2 separate regions of the Homo sapiens genome follow, and region 2 is linked to region 1. Evidence: promoter capture Hi-C in 16 types of primary human blood cells and fetal thymus (Javierre and others, 2016). All regions are on one chromosome and are shown on one strand. Each heading gives the region's core, a stretch centred on a gene start or on the middle of the fragment in contact. The rest is flanking DNA. Distances are from core to core; before and after follow the strand shown.

Region 1 (4,083 bases), core at 845-3,344:
TGACCATTTTTTAAGTATACATAATAGTCTTTTGTGAAGAGGATTCCTTCCAGCACACAAACTGATAAACTTGTTTCAATTTCTGCCTTAGGAGAAAGATACAAGAGTATGTGAACATCCACTCTCAGACATAGTGATTGCCGGGGAAGCTGCTCATCCTTTACCACACACCTTTCACCGCTTGCTGCAGACCATCTCAGACCTTATGATGTCTCTCCCCAGCGGCAGTTCATTACAGCAAATGGCCCTGAGGTAATTTTGGTATCCACATATCCTAGGTACATTGGACAAGAGAGTTTATGGAATATTCAAAGTATGAAATGCTCCAAAAAAAGCTCTTTAAATAGTAAGATAGAATCCCTACATTATATAGATGGTGCCTCCCTCCTTACAGTCATAATTTTTAGAATGGTCCTTCCTCTTAGTTAACATTTGTTTGCCCTCCTGTAAAATGTGGCTAATGTAATTCTTAGTGCCCTAAATTATCACTGTAGCAATCTCCCTCACTTTCCCCAGTCTCCTACCTCAAATCACTTAAATGTCCCAAAAAGAGAGAGGGAAAATGAAATCTCAAAAACAAAAACCAAAATAGAGTTTTGACTTGAAAAGAATCTTGGGGAAAACAGAGCCTGGTTGTATGCACCCAGTCCTAAAAGCACCTTAAGGAGCATCACAGATGCTCAACAGATTCCAATTTCAATTTGAAATGTGTTGAGAATTTAGCATTGCTTTTACACTGTGAACCTTGTTACTAGATTCACATACTGGACTCACACTTATAAATAAATTCTCCTAATTAATGTATACAAGAAATAGATTGATGGAATGCTTGGGCTTCCCATGTTACTAATGATAAGACCAGTGGAAGAGAGATTTCTCTTTGTCCTCCTCACAAGATTTTTGAACTACAAGATAAACTATACCCTGATGAATTAGTATGGCATTGTAAGAGTAATAAATTTGAGGGGTTGTTGCAGTTGGTGTACCACTTGTTTACACAATAGATTCATTACCCTTTTTGCTTCTGTAGCCTTGATCTTCATCTGTCTAATTCTTTTATATTTAAAATGGGTCAACTTTCCTTAGAATTTACCTTGTTCCAAAGAAGTTACCTTTATTTCTCAAAAACAAAAACAATAGGAATGATTTTCTTCCCTGAATTTTTAAAATGTCTGTTACTAGAACATTAAAATTTCTTGAGATATTAGCTACAGAGTACTCATCTAAGAGTTCCTTAGATGTTCCTGGAAAATAATTATTTCGTATATTGCTTATATATCGCCTTTTTAGGTGCTGGAGTCTCAAATTCAAGCAATCTGATCACCAGTTCCTTCATCAGAGCAACGTCTTTCATCACATTAACAATATTTTGTCAAAGTCAGATGATGGCGATAGTGAAGAGAGTTTTAGCATCAGTATACAGTCTGGCTTTGAAGCTATGAGTCAGGTCAGTCATTTCAGTTATTATCCTGGTTGTCCTGTTAGTTAATAATACATCAAAGGAGAAACTGTAAGTTATTCATAATCAATTTGATCCTGTCTTCCATTATGTTTTATCTTATACCTGTTTGTTTTATCATCACGAAAGATTTGCTTTTAAGTATCATAAGTACTTATATTTGTTTCTGATAGGAATTATGCATAGTAATGTGCTTAAAGGACTTAACCAGCATTGTTGACATAAAAACTTCAAGCCGACCTGCCATGATTGGCAGTTTGACAGACGGCTCCACAGAAACCTTTTGGGAATCAGGAGATGAAGATAAAAACAAAACTAAGAACATCACCATCAACTGTGTAAAAGGAATCAATGCCCGCTATGTGTCTGTTCACGTGGACAATTCCCGAGATCTTGGGGTAAGAAAGCAAACGTGATTTACGGCTCTTTAGCTCTTTTCAGATCTTAGTATTCATGCACTTTCATTTCTGAATTTAGCAACAAGCTTTATCACCTGGAATTTCACCAACCAAACATCATTGCTATAATCCCCAAATAAATCTTAAGTCTAAAAACAAATTAATATGATTGGGAGCACTGTGGAATTCCATTTCTGAAAAGAGGTCTGATTACAAATATACCATGGCTACAGCTAAGCAAAATGAAAGTCTGCTCTACAATTTTCTGCTGCCATTCCCTTGGTTAAGATTTTCCCGTGACCTGGAAGTCCTCCCCTTAAACTCTGCTGATCAATTCTTCCAGGGTCTCTCAAACTCAGCAGAGAAATTCTAAGTAACTCCTCTAAAAAATTACTCTTTCCCTCTGCTGATTCTTTTTGTATTACTCTGGTGGCACTTAATAATAATCTTTGACCTATAGTGTAATCAGCTTTTTTTTTTTTTTCTGAGATGGAGTCTCCCTCTGTCACCCAGGCTGGAGTGCAGTGGCACAATCTTGGCTCACTGCAACCTTCGCCTCCAGGTTCAAACGATTCTCCTGCTTCAACCTCCTGAGTAGCTGGGATTACAAGCACACGCCACCATGCTTGGCTAATTTTTGTATTTTTAGTAGAGACAGGGTTTCACCATGTTGTCCAGGCCGGTCTCAAACCCCTGGCCTCAAGTGATCTGCCCACCTCAGCCTCCCAAAGTGCTAGGATTACAGACATGAGCCACTGCACCCAGCCTATCTTCAAGTGTCTACTTTGCCACAGTCCTCATGAAATAAAAAATAAGTTTCAGACTGTCCCAAATAATCATAATTTATATTCTCTTCAGCCTAGTTCATCCATGTGTTTCAACTGAATTAAATATTCTTTTATAAAAGGCACTAAACAAGAAAAAAGAGTCCTATTTGCTTGAGTATTAACAACCAAGAAAGAAATAGCACTAACTGCCAGACTGCCTTTCTTCTACCTCATTTAGAATTTTTTTCCTCAGAATGGATGTGGCTTGCTAGCAGATACAGTATTAATGGCTCTCCTTGAACCATTGCCTGGCTTCTCCTGTGCCATTTGCATATTTCCTTTCTCAGGAAGAGCCACAGTGGTAGGATTGGGTCTCAGATAACCTGGATGCAGGCCAGTCTGCAATCAGAGCAACCTCCAACTCCTGTACATCAGTGCAGGTTCTATTCCTCCCTGGTATTGAGTAAGTAAAAGAGGCTTAGCTAATATAATATGAGCTATTTCCTCCTCAGACCTAAGAATTTCCACTGGTGTAACTACTTTATCTTACTGGAAAGTCAAGTGTAACAAAGCAAAACATTTTTGTAGCTAGAACTCACTGTTCAGTGCAAAGCTATCTTTGGCTCATGGTACATTTTAAGCAAGGACATACTCTCCCTCAGAACAATGATTGCAATCAATTTAACACTTCTGTCTTTTCTAAGAGGAAATAATCATAACAGTATTCATTTTCAAAATTCCCAACATGTAAGCTGACATCTACTTTCCTTTTAACAGGCTTCCTCTATGTTATAGGTTGAGCATTCCAAATCTGAAAATCCAAAATGCTACAGAATCTGAAACTTTTTGAACACAGATATGACACTTAAAGGAAATGCATATTGGAGCATTTCTGGTTTTAGATATTCAGATTTGGGGTGCCCAGCCAGTAAGGATAATGCAAATAGAGTATTTCAAAATCCTAAAAAATCCCTAATCCAAAACACTTCTAGTCCCAAATATTTCTAATAAAGGATACTCAACCTGTATGTATGTTTTCCTTGAGTTATGTACCTCCATGTTCCTCAACCTGCCTACCACAGAGCCTTGTACACAGCATTTGTTGATTTGAGTTGTATCAGCCTACAGCACTCATATTATGCAGCTCTCCAAGGAATTAATGTTAATCTATTTCTTGATGTGCTTTGCGTAAAACTTATTCAGCCTTAAGATATTTGACACTAGTTTGAACATGTATTGAACTTGTACTGTTTGACATTTATTTTGTGTATTAATGTTGCCTTCCCTAGTTTGGCAAGTATCTTGGGGGATAGAACCTCCTCTCATATATCCTACTTCAAATCTGTAAGGAAGTCTGGGTACATTGTGACACTCATAAGTATTTGTTAGTTCAGTTACCTTCCCTCTTTATACTTCCAAAAGTAATGAAAATATAGCAACAAGAGTCTGACATAAGTGA
Region 2 (4,022 bases), core at 1,235-3,734, 43 kb before region 1:
AAGATAAAAGTAAAATCAAGGATGATTATATTTCTCAAATTATGGTGGGCAGAAGCCAGAGGTTGACTGGTTTCCTGCTATATTTTCTTGCCTTCAACTTTATTTTAAATAGCATTGTTGAAAAACTGAGATTCTTTAATTAGTGCTAATGACTAATTCTTCAGTTATCTTTAGTTATGTGTTTTTTTTATATTGACAGTACTGTAGACTTGCTATAAAAGCTATTAATAGGAAGGCTTTGAAAGTGATAATAGATTGTATTTTGTTTATTTTTCTTTCCTATTCAAATTTTCAGGAATCTAAAACTAATACTGATGACTTTTTCAAAGACATAAACTCCTGCTGCCCACAGGAAGCAACAATGCAAGAACAAGATATGCCATTCTTGCGAGGAGGGCCAGGCATGTACAAGGTAGTGAAGACGGGACCTTCAGGTCACAACATCAGAAGCTGCCCTAACCTTAGAGGTATCCCAATTGGAATGTTAGTTCTGGGAAACAAAGTCAAAGCAGTGGGAGAGGTATGGATTCTTGTAGCTTCATGACTTCTAAGATACTCATTTTTAATGTAATACAACCAAAGCATCTCTTCTAAAGGTTGCCATTTCTACCACAGGTTTTTCAATGTTAATGTATTTTATCTTTACTTGTATTGCAAATACATAATTTTTCTGTGCTTCTGTCTAATGATTTGCATAATTATCCTTGTGTAAACAATATATTAACAAATGATTTGTATTGTATATATAAATGTTTGGTATTTGCACATATTTTTTCATTATTACAAATGTACTATACCATCATGGATTATCATCACTTAAAATATTCTATGTGATCGGTATGGAGATGTGGTCATATGCAAAAGGTTTCATTTCTTTGTTCCCATTCATAGGTCTCACTGAAGTCCTGAGCAAATAAAATTACTCTTTAGGCTACTGTGGCATTTGCCTCAGCTGATAAGCTTGAAGATGTAGTGTGTCATGCTATTTCTCAGTAAGGGTCATTTTCAAGTTACACTATGGATACTCTCAACCTAAATAATAGCAAGTCGGCTGTGTTAGGACATTTTAGATGCAGAAAAAAGAAAATGAGCCATGTGTTCTTGGGTAATTCTTAAAATTATTTAGGTGTTATCTTTGTGCTTTGAAAGTTATTATTTTAACCAAATTCATAAATAAGCAGTATTTTACAGAACTTTTTATTGACTTCTGTCTTACCTCAGGCTGTGGCCTTAATTTCAGAAACTAATTTCTTAGTAGAAATGTATTGGAATGATTACACTATTCAGACACGTAAGATTTTTACTGGTTTTCAGACTGAGTTCCCTGAAAGAATCAAGCCAATCAATCATGCTTTTTGTTATGTACCAGGTAACCAATTCTGAAGGGACATGGGTGCAACTGGATCAGAACAGCATGGTAGAGTTCTGTGAGAGTGATGAAGGAGAGGCATGGTCCTTAGCTAGAGACAGAGGCGGAAACCAGTACCTCCGACATGAAGATGGCAAGTTGGCTTAAATTTGTGATTTATTCCAATTAAGCTTTCAAATACAGAAGTTTAATGCCTATTGTATTGCTTTTGTTTTAAAGAGTTTTTTGTGTGTTTGCTTTTTAACAAGCAAAACTAAAAGTTAAAAAATCTTGCAACTGTTAAAATTGGTTTGTAAAATACGTGAGTACTTAATGCACATTAAAGAAGAAAATTAAAAGAAAATTCGAAACATATAGACTCATCTTTATAAAACAGGCTTTTAATTTCATTAATATAAATTTATATACCTCTTTCTTCTGTACCAGTCCAGGACTGAACGTTCTATCCCTTCTATAATAAAATGAAACTTCGGTATTCCAACTACCAATCTCAGTACTTCTCCCAGGCAACTTCATTTGATTGCATTTTGTCTTAGGGAAAGAGCATTGAATAAATGCATAGTGTCTTTAGGGTTTCCTGTTGTTAGATTTTCAACTTTAAATTTTATTTTACCTTTTTCAACATGGCTATCACTTAATAAAATATATTCCTTTTTGTCCCCCTCTCTTTGATATCTTGGTGGCAAAAATTTGTTCTTCGAAGTTGAGACCACATTATCACTTGTGTGATGCTTTAACTGATCACAACAGAGCAAAGAATTTCTTGTGTTCCTAAAGAATTGTGCTCACCACTAGAACAATAGTGTCATAGTGAAGTTCATGTTTATTTCTTCATACCCAGTTATGAGTCCCTTGTGGACAGGCACATGGTTTTTATCTTTCCATTCCTAGTACTGAAACAGTTTTGACACATACTAGTTGCTCATGAAGTTTTGTAATACAACTTGAATTATAAAAATAATAGCACATCAAAATAAGTATGTAAGCAAACATGGACTTGTCTGCCAAATCCCAAAATTTATAGGATGAAGTTAGGTAAATAAGAGAACATGCATCTTTATTCAAAAGATAATAAATTTATAATACTTATTATTCCAAGAGGCAATTTGGCCATAAATATGGATTCAGAAAAGGTTTGAAATTTGCAATAATGATGGAGTATCTTTGGAGATATCTCCCTTTTTCCCCCCACAACACACCTTTGAGGTAGGTGATATAATCTTAAATTTATAGGTAGGAAACTCAAGCTCTAGAATTTAAACTAACGTGTCTATGGTTGTACAGCTGGTGACATAGCAGATGTAAGACTTCAGCCAGAATCTTCATTCGTGTTTTAAATGCTGTACTCATTACACCATGCTGTACACATTGAGCACAACTTGAGAACCTACCTCCTCTCCTTGTTTTTCCCAGATAGACTTTTTTTAGTCTAAGATGATATGGTCATAAAATAATGTCCTGAAACAGTAGAACTGTTCATTTGAAAAAGATAAGGGTTCCGCTTGATGTAAATCAGACATTTACTAAATGACTTTTTCACTTACTATGTGCTTATTATATATTGCTGTATATTTACTTCATATTCATAAATTTTTAAACATTTTTCTTTATATAGGAATATTCAGATATAAATGAAAATACCTAAGGGGAGATCAGCTTTATTTAAGATAAGTTAAATATGAGAACAGCTTAGGTGACTTCTAAAGGACTTTTCTAGCTTAATCCTTAATAATTTTTTAACTGGCAGTACAAAAAATATGTAAGAGTGGATTCTGAAGCAGGACTGCCAGGGTACTGATCCCAGCTGTGCAACTTTTTACTCATGTGACCTTGACCAAGTTAACCTAATATCTCTGTGCCTCAGTTTTCCCATTTATAAAATGACCTTATAGGTCATAACCACATAAATTTGATATGAAGACTAAATGAGCAAATAACAGATAAAGCTAATGGATGGTAAGTTAGGTCTTATTGTTAAAATGCAAAATGCCTTCCATGCTAAGGATCAAGTTTTAACCTGGGAAATTTTATTCTTATAAACTTAGAAGATAGAAGCTTCTTTCAAGATAAAATGCCTCTTAAATTAGAGTATCATTTAAGAAAAGTTTAAATTTTTCTCTGTAATTAGTTAATCATCTTTTACTCTTGATGTATAGATACAGACATAAATATGGATATTTGGTGATCATGTGAATCTTACTATTTTAATATAAAACCTGGAGTGATAAGGAAAGAAATGATATGAAGTTAGTGCCTTTAAATCACTAAGATTAGTTGATGTGCTGCCCAAATAGTCTGTTCATTGGTGATAATATTTAATATGGAAGTACAAAGATTTGGCACTATGGTAATTTATATGAAGTCATGTGAGTAAAACAAAAGCTTTCCTCTTTGTAAAAATTCTCTATTGGTCTTTGAAATCTGTAGTAGGCAAAGTTACTGCTGTGGTAAAAACAGACTTCACTCTGGGTGCTAGACCATTCTTAGTCTAGAGAGGAAGCAGTGCTATCTTTTCCGTTCAGTTTACTGTTCATGGGTGTTTTTCTGAAGAAACATTCTACTGCTGAAATATTGCATGCTGAAGAGTATTGCCTAAGGGAAGTGCTAAGATTGGTTTTTTAAATCAAGTCTACAAATGCTGGTAAAGGGATAG

Evidence for each region. Contacts are between HindIII fragments. The CHiCAGO score rates a contact against its expected background, and 5 or more counts as called.
Region 2: a fragment that was not itself captured here is called in contact with the fragment with the promoter of MYCBP2-AS2 in region 1 in 2 of 17 cell types (total B cells and naive B cells); the score reaches 5.2 in total B cells.

Annotation. Positions count from the first base shown.
Region 1 is chr13:77,079,201-77,083,283 of GRCh38, reverse strand. MYCBP2-AS2 (MYCBP2 antisense RNA 2) reads left to right here and starts at 2,094. Exons shown (of 2, transcript NR_170173.1): 1 at 2,094-2,370; 2 at 2,623-2,773. MYCBP2 (MYC binding protein 2) reads left to right here. Exons shown (of 83, transcript NM_015057.5): 63 at 92-252; 64 at 1,291-1,447; 65 at 1,633-1,857. It overlaps MYCBP2-AS1 (MYCBP2 antisense RNA 1), which reads right to left. Exons shown (of 4, transcript NR_046716.1): 3 at 172-274. The HindIII fragment of the contact is 5,615 bases long and covers 1,946-4,083 here.
Region 2 is chr13:77,122,816-77,126,837 of GRCh38, reverse strand. MYCBP2 (MYC binding protein 2) reads left to right here. Exons shown (of 83, transcript NM_015057.5): 53 at 296-520; 54 at 1,370-1,502. Among named protein-coding and RNA genes, the nearest start is that of MYCBP2-AS2, 44 kb to the right of the region's middle. The HindIII fragment of the contact is 1,885 bases long and covers 1,542-3,426 here.